Linked DNA regions of Homo sapiens: region 2 is linked to region 1. Evidence: promoter capture Hi-C in human tissues and cell types (Jung and others, 2019). All regions are on one chromosome and are shown on one strand. The core of a region is centred on a gene start or on the middle of the fragment in contact, and the rest is flanking DNA. Distances in the headings are between cores, read along the strand shown. Region 1 holds the start of TPM3 (tropomyosin 3). Region 2 overlaps GATAD2B (GATA zinc finger domain containing 2B).

Region 1 (3,507 bases), core at 288-2,787:
TCAATCTCTGGGGCTCCTGTCTCTTTTACTGAACCTCTTCTCTCCAGGACCCCCCCAAAAGTCCAGTAGCTGCAACCTATGTGCATTTCAATCTTAACCTAAGAGGGCTGGTGTGGGAATGGGAGAGAGTTGGAATTTGAGGATAGAATCTTTCTATTTCTTGTCCCCTTATACTAGAAGGGACATTTCTTTGCCTTTTCTTGTCCTCGTATTTTTCTCCCCCTTATTCACTTGCCCACCCCCCCCCCATTTTCCACTCCTTCCTCTCCCTGTTCCCTAACCCCTTTCCCTGGCTAATCTCCAGAGAAAGGAGACTTGGTTTCTCCTCTCTCTGTCGAGAGTCAGCTGATGGTCTATCTGCCTATCTACCTCTAGTGACTGGAAGCTCTCAATAGTGGACTCCAGCTCTGCTCTACCCACTGGCCTGGTGGGTGTCTCCGTTCCCCCATTGCTGGGGCTTAGCATTAACTCTCAGTATCCTGACATAAATGACTAACTAGAGCCATTTATATTTGTCCAATATATCTGGTCACCTTGAACAGTGCCCACCTCTCCCTTGGCATATTTTCAGGTGTATGGTGCCAGTGGACTGGTATCCTTGCCACCTGTTAGTAACAAGGCTCCCAATGGAAGAATAAACATGGTCTGGAACTAAACTGGAAAGAATAGAGCTGATAATGATGATTACGATGATGTGGTGAGTGGCAGCGTTGGGGAGAATTAAGAAGGGAGAAGATAAAGGGAAGAAGAGGAGAGAGCCACACAGACCAAAGTCTGTGTGGGTACAACAGTTCTATTTTAAGATTACTGTGGGAAAACAAAGGGTATGATCCTGTCTGGATTGTTCTGACCCTCCCCTGTTTCTCTCCCCACCCCACTTGAAGCTCTGGGATAGCCTTCAAGGATAGGGTTGGAGATTCCAACCCTACCTCTTACTCTACTCTTGTGGCTCTTGGTGGGGAGGAAAAACGTCTCCCTGCCAATCGGAGACTCCCAGAATAGCACAGCAATTTGATCTGGGGATCTGGGAGAATTGTTAAGGATCATGAGTGACCTCCCCTCTTCCCTGTGCCCAAGCTCCTTGAATACCAGGAATCAAAAGCTAAAACTCAACTAACGGAGTTTGACCAGCATTCAACACAGTCTGGGGGAGAGTGAAACGGGAAGCTGAAAGGCAACCAGGACCCCCTGGATGCAAACTGCCAACCTAGAATTGCCAAAGTACACTTCTCTATTTCAATGTTCTTCCCTCCCCTCTTCCTCTTCTTTTAAAACATCCATAGAGCTGCCCAGAATGAGTGGAAAGTTTCAGGGTCAGGGAGAACCTCTTCCCTCCCCCACTTTCCATTGTCTAAAATCAGCCTCAGCTGTTGCTAGATATTTTTTTTGCTGGTGATGTCAGTTCATCAAAGCGTCTCACCCTGTGTTCCCCCAGGAGAACAATGATGGGGTGGAGGGAGCTGGAAAGACCATATTAGGAACAAAAGGTGGAGCTATGAGCACAGATAAAGACTCAAGTCTGGGGACCTCCTGGTCACTCAGGCAGCAGCCCCTTCTTTCTTGCCCCAGTCTCCAGTTCTCCAGTGTTCACAGGTGAGCCTACCAACAGCCACTGCTCATGATGGAGGCCATCAAGAAAAAGATGCAGATGCTGAAGTTAGACAAGGAGAATGCTCTGGATCGGGCAGAGCAAGCTGAAGCTGAGCAGAAGCAGGCAGAAGAAAGAAGTAAACAGGTAGGCACTGGCATTGATCTCTCTCATCTGCTAGTGAACAAGACTGTGAAATGGAAGGGAGTTTTCATGGGAAAGACAGTGACTACTGGTGTCACCTCCTTTTTGGGGGTGGGATGGACTCCCCAGCCTCACTGGAGGAGCAGAGGATATCTAACATATCTGTCTCAGACTGCCTTTGTGACCTTGGGAAAGTCAGTGAGCCACAGTATGTCTGCTGAATTTAAGTAGAAATGGACCATGTTTTGGAAGAACCCTTGACTTCTAGAGGAAAAGGTAAGAGTTCTAGAGGGAAAGAGCATCTCTTTTCACTCAAATAGCATCACGGGCATCTACACTTTAGATATTTATCATCCAGGGGTCTTGGATGAAAACCCAGGATGGCTTGGTCATCTTAGGATCAGAGATTACAGGGTCACAGGCCAAGCTACGGCATAACTCCTGAGGCAGTGGGCTGGAAGTGGCTGGGGAGAAAGTGTGTCTCACTAGGGATGGTAACATGGAGGTTACACTCAGGGCTCCAAGAGCCCAGGGTCCAACCCTGCATTGTTGTGTTTGTGTGTTTTTGTGTGTGACTCTCTGGGCTCCTATAGCTGGAGGATGAGCTGGCAGCCATGCAGAAGAAGCTGAAAGGGACAGAGGATGAGCTGGACAAGTATTCTGAAGCTTTGAAGGATGCCCAGGAGAAGCTGGAACTGGCAGAGAAGAAGGCTGCTGATGTGAGTATTAGAGAGATGGAGGATGGGTTTAATCTACACATATAGATCTTTATGTTAATGTATGACGAAATTCCAAACACACTTGTGGGTTCATGGAACACAGACATATATACTCACATACATTTTTGCATATAACCACATGCTGGTATATTCTCATAATGGCATGTATTTTCTTTCTTAAAGACATCTCCAACATGTTAAAAGTTTTTTTTTAATACATGTAAAGGTCTCATTTATCTCCTATCACCAACCCAGGAATTTAATTATCTTTCCCAGGACCTGGACAAAGAGAGGGGACTCTAAGTTCAGAATGCTGTCACTTATCCTACCTCCTCCCCCATGCCACATTCTTAGCTTTTATGTCCAAGTCTTGGCATGTGGATATGTGTATTAATAGGGAACCTCTCATCTCTCAACTGTCCAACAAAACCAGCTCGGATTTCACAATGGGAAATGGAGGTCACACTGACCCTGGCCATATATGGGTTTATTTATCTTGGCCAATGCAGGCATTTGCCTTTATGCCATGGAGATGCCATATGAAGCATTGCTCCTAGGGCAGCAGAGAGATCCCTACAGTGACAGAGTATAATAGAAACTAAGAAAGAATCTTAGGGGGTAAAGGTATCACCACCAGACTTCACTCTATGACCGTGAGTAATTACTCAGCTTGTCTAGGGCTGAATTTTCCCATTCTCAAATAAAATAAATTCTCTTTTCCATCTCATATTATCCCATCATCATCACCTACTTTCCTTCATCTTTAACCTTGAAGTTTGCTGCAAAGATAAATGAGAGAGTAGATTGAAAAGTTTTTTAGAAGAAAAGTACCATAGGAATCTTACCAACAACAACAGAAATGTCCCAGTATTGGTGGAAACAAGTTTCTCAGTGAACTGAGTTAATAGGAAAAAAGGAGCATGTAATATTTAAAATCATATTTGGGCTGGGTGCGGTGGCTCACGCCTGTAATCCCAGCACTTTGGAAGGCCGAGGCGGGTGGATCACCTGAGGTCAAGAGTTTGAGACCAGCCTGGCCAACATGGTGAAACCCTG
Region 2 (3,507 bases), core at 373-2,872, 300 kb after region 1:
GCCCCCCAAAGTGCTGGGATTACAGGTGTGAGCCACCTCGCCCAGCCTTTGTTTGTTTTTTTGAGACGTAGTCTCGACCTGTCACCCAGGCTGGAGTGCAGTGGAGCAATCTCCACTTACTGCGACCTCTGCCTCTCGGGTTCAAGCGATTCTCCTGCCTCAGCCTGCCAAGTAGCTGGGACTGCAGGCGCGTGCCACCATGCCTGGCTAATTTTTTGTATTTTTAGTAGAGACGGGGTTTCCCCGTGTTAGCCAGGATGGTCTCAATCTTCTGACCTCGTGATCTGCCTGTCTCGGCCTCCCAAAGTGCTAGGATTACAGGCGTGAGCCACTGTACCTGGCCCGTAAACTTTTTTTTTTAACTGAGGTATAATGTACATACAGAAAAGTAGTTTAATTGTAAGGTGACCACCCAGATAGAGATATAGAAGACCCAGAAGTCTTTTTTTGTTTTTTGAGACAGAATCTTGCTCTGTCGCCCATGCTGGAGTGCGGCGGCACGAATTCAGCTCACTGCAACCTCTGCCTTCTGGGTTGAAGCGATTTTCTTGCCTCAGCCTCCTGAGTAGCTAGAACTGCAGGCGTGTGCCACCACACCTGGCTAATTTTTGTATTTTTAGTAGAGACGAGGTTTCACCATGTTGGCCAGGCTGGTTTTGAACTCCTGACCTCAAGTGATCTGCCCGCCTCAACCTCCCAAAGTGCTGGGATTACAAGCGTAAGCCACATGCTCAGTCCCAGAAGTCTGTTTTATGTTCTCTCCTAGTCATTACCCTCCTCCACTCCAACAGGTAGCCACTATTCTGACTTCCTCTGGTAGTATTTGTGTTCAACTACAAGCTTGAGACTTGGTAATAATTGCCACAAACCTCCTTGAAGATAAAGTCATGTTGGTGGTGTTTAATATAGTGGTTCCAGTTAGTATGGGGACATTTTTTGGGTTTTTTTTTTTTTTTTTTTTTTTTTTTAGATGGAGTCTTGTTCAGTCACCCAGGCCAAGTGCAGTGGTGCGATCTCGGCTCACTGCAGCCCCCGCCTCCCAGGTTCAAGCGATTCTCCCGTCTCAGCCTCCTGAGTAGCTGGGATTACGGGCACCTGCCACGATGCCTGGCTAATTTTTATATTTTCAGTAGAGATGGGATTTCACCATGTTGACCAGGCTGTTCTCGAACTCCTGACCCTGTGATCCACCCACCTTGGCCTCCAAAGTGCTGGGATTACAGGCATGAGCCAGTGTGCCTGGCCAAGAATAAACTTTTCTAAAAGTTCAGTTTTACTTAGGGGAAGGGGTAAACTTATTTTATTTTTTTTTTTGAGACAGAGTCTTGCTCTGTTGCCCAGGCTGGAGTGCAGTGTTGTGATCTCGGCTCACTGCAACCTCTGCCTCCTGCAGCTCAAGCAATCCTCCCACTTCAGCCTCTTGAGTAGCTGGGACTACAGGCATGTGCCACCCTGCCCAGCTAACTTTTTGTCTTTTTTTGTAGAGACTGGGTTTCGGCATGTCACCCAGGCTGGTGTGAAACTTCTGGGCTCAAGTGATCTGCCTGCCTCAGTCTCCCAAAGTGCTGGGATTACAGATGTGAGCCGGCCCGTGCCCAGCTGGGATAAACTTTTTAAGGTGAACATTTACTGCCCTGTAAAATGATAAGCCTGCCTACTATACCAAATCCTCGTAACAACAGTCAGAATTTTGACAAATCTTTATGTCACTGAATTGAAGAAAAGTGTCACTGTTTTTCCTGTAGGTTCCATGTGCTCATCAATGCTAATGGGCAAATCTCAGCTAATAGACTGCTAGAAGTTTCCTCTAGGTAAAATCCAGACCAGACAAGTTTTTCCTCTTGTACTGTGTTTAGGTACAGCCTCACAGAACTTGATCCACTCCTCTGCATGAATATTTTCTTCCCTCATTTCAATAAAGAAGATTTCTTGGCCGGGCGCAGTGGCTCACACCTATAATCCCAGCACTTTGGGAGGCCGAGGCGGGTGGATCACGAGGTCAGGAGTTCAAGATCAGCTTGGCCAACATTGTGAAACCCCGTCTCTACTAAAAATACAAAAATTAGCCAGGCGTGGTGGCACGTGCCTGTAGTCCCAGCTACTTGGGAGGCGGAGGTAGGATAATTGCCCGAACCCGGGAGGCAGAGGTTGCAATAAGCCAAGATGGCACAACTGCACTCCAGCCTGGGTGACACAGGGAGACTGTCTCAAAAAAAAAAAAAAAAAAAAAAGGTTTCTTACAAGTCTACTGGATACTGTCTAATGTTGGGCCCATTTTGATGACAAAATTATTTTATAATATTGTTGGACAGAAGCGATGAATGTCCAGAATTTCACATTGGCATATCTTATCCATCAATTCTGATTTTAAACTCCTTGACCATTTACTAGTCAATTGTTATGAGCAGCTATGTATTCATGTATCCCTCTACAGTCTAGAGAGTTCTAGGTGAGTGATGATGCTTTGACCCTGAAAGACCCCTTTACTTATCAGTTTATTTATTTTTCCCTTGGATTCAATAGGAGGGAATACTTATTAGTATGTTTAATATTTGGTCAGCTAGATCTTTTTTCCTAGATATCTGATCTTTAGCCTTTAGTGTGTCTTACCTTAACTAGTGGTAGTGTTCTATATACTATAATAGTCTTGTTACCTGTTTTACTCTTGAGTTTTGTGAGTGACTTATGCTGCTTCTAGCTAGGCCTGGGGATTCTGTCCCTAATTGTCTTGTCTTTTCTTTTTTTTTTTTTTTTTTTTTTGAGACGGAGTCTCACTCTGTTGCCAGGCTAGAGTGCAGTGAAATGATCTCGGCTCACTGCAACCTCCGCCTCCTGGGTTTAAGCAATTCTCCTGCCTCAGCCTCCCGAGTAGCTGGGACTACAGGCGTCTGCCACCGCCATGCCTGGCTAATTTTTGTGTTTTTAGTAGATACGGGGCTTCACCATGTTGGCCAGGATGGTCTCGATTTCTTGACCTCATGATCCGCCCGCCTCAGCCTCCCAAAGTGCTAGGATTACAGGCATGAGCCACTGCACCCGGCCATAAACTCTGTCCCTAATTTTCATTGTGCTTATGTCTTTTAGTAATTATGTTAAATCTAGCCATTCCTTTTATTTTTAAATTTTAGTCAGTTTTTGGATAGGTGATATATGCACATGGTACAGAATTTACAATTGGAAAAAGTTTACAGTAAAAAAGGACATCTCTTTCTTTGGAGACAGAACTTAATCTACTTCTTTTCCCTCCCCTCCCCCCCCCCCATACTTACCTCCTCTTACCCTTCCCCTCTCCTTTTTCCTTCCCTTTGCCTCTCCCCCCCACCTCTTTTTTTTTTTTTTTTTTTTTTTTAAACGAGACAGAGTTTCACTTTTGTTGCCCAGGCTGGAGTGCAGTGGCACGATCTCAGCTCACTACAAACTCTGCCTCCTGGGCTCAAGCAGTTCTCCTGCCTCAACCTCCCAAGTAGCTGGGATTTACAGGTGCCCGCCACCACACCTAGCTAATTT

Evidence for each region. Contacts are between HindIII fragments. The study calls those that stand out against the background at their distance.
Region 2: a fragment that was not itself captured here is called in contact with the fragment with the promoter of TPM3 in region 1 in 1 of the 25 tissues and cell types used here (adrenal gland).

What each region holds. Positions count from the first base shown.
Region 1 is chr1:154,190,130-154,193,636 of GRCh38, reverse strand. It overlaps TPM3 (tropomyosin 3), which reads left to right and starts at 1,537. Exons shown (of 10, transcript NM_152263.4): 1 at 1,537-1,735; 2 at 2,326-2,451. The coding sequence starts at 1,619. The HindIII fragment of the contact is 10,185 bases long and covers 1-3,507 here.
Region 2 is chr1:153,891,417-153,894,923 of GRCh38, reverse strand. The region is part of intron 1 of GATAD2B (GATA zinc finger domain containing 2B); the gene reads left to right. Among named protein-coding and RNA genes, the nearest start is that of GATAD2B, 30 kb to the left of the region's middle. The HindIII fragment of the contact is 7,988 bases long and covers 1-3,507 here.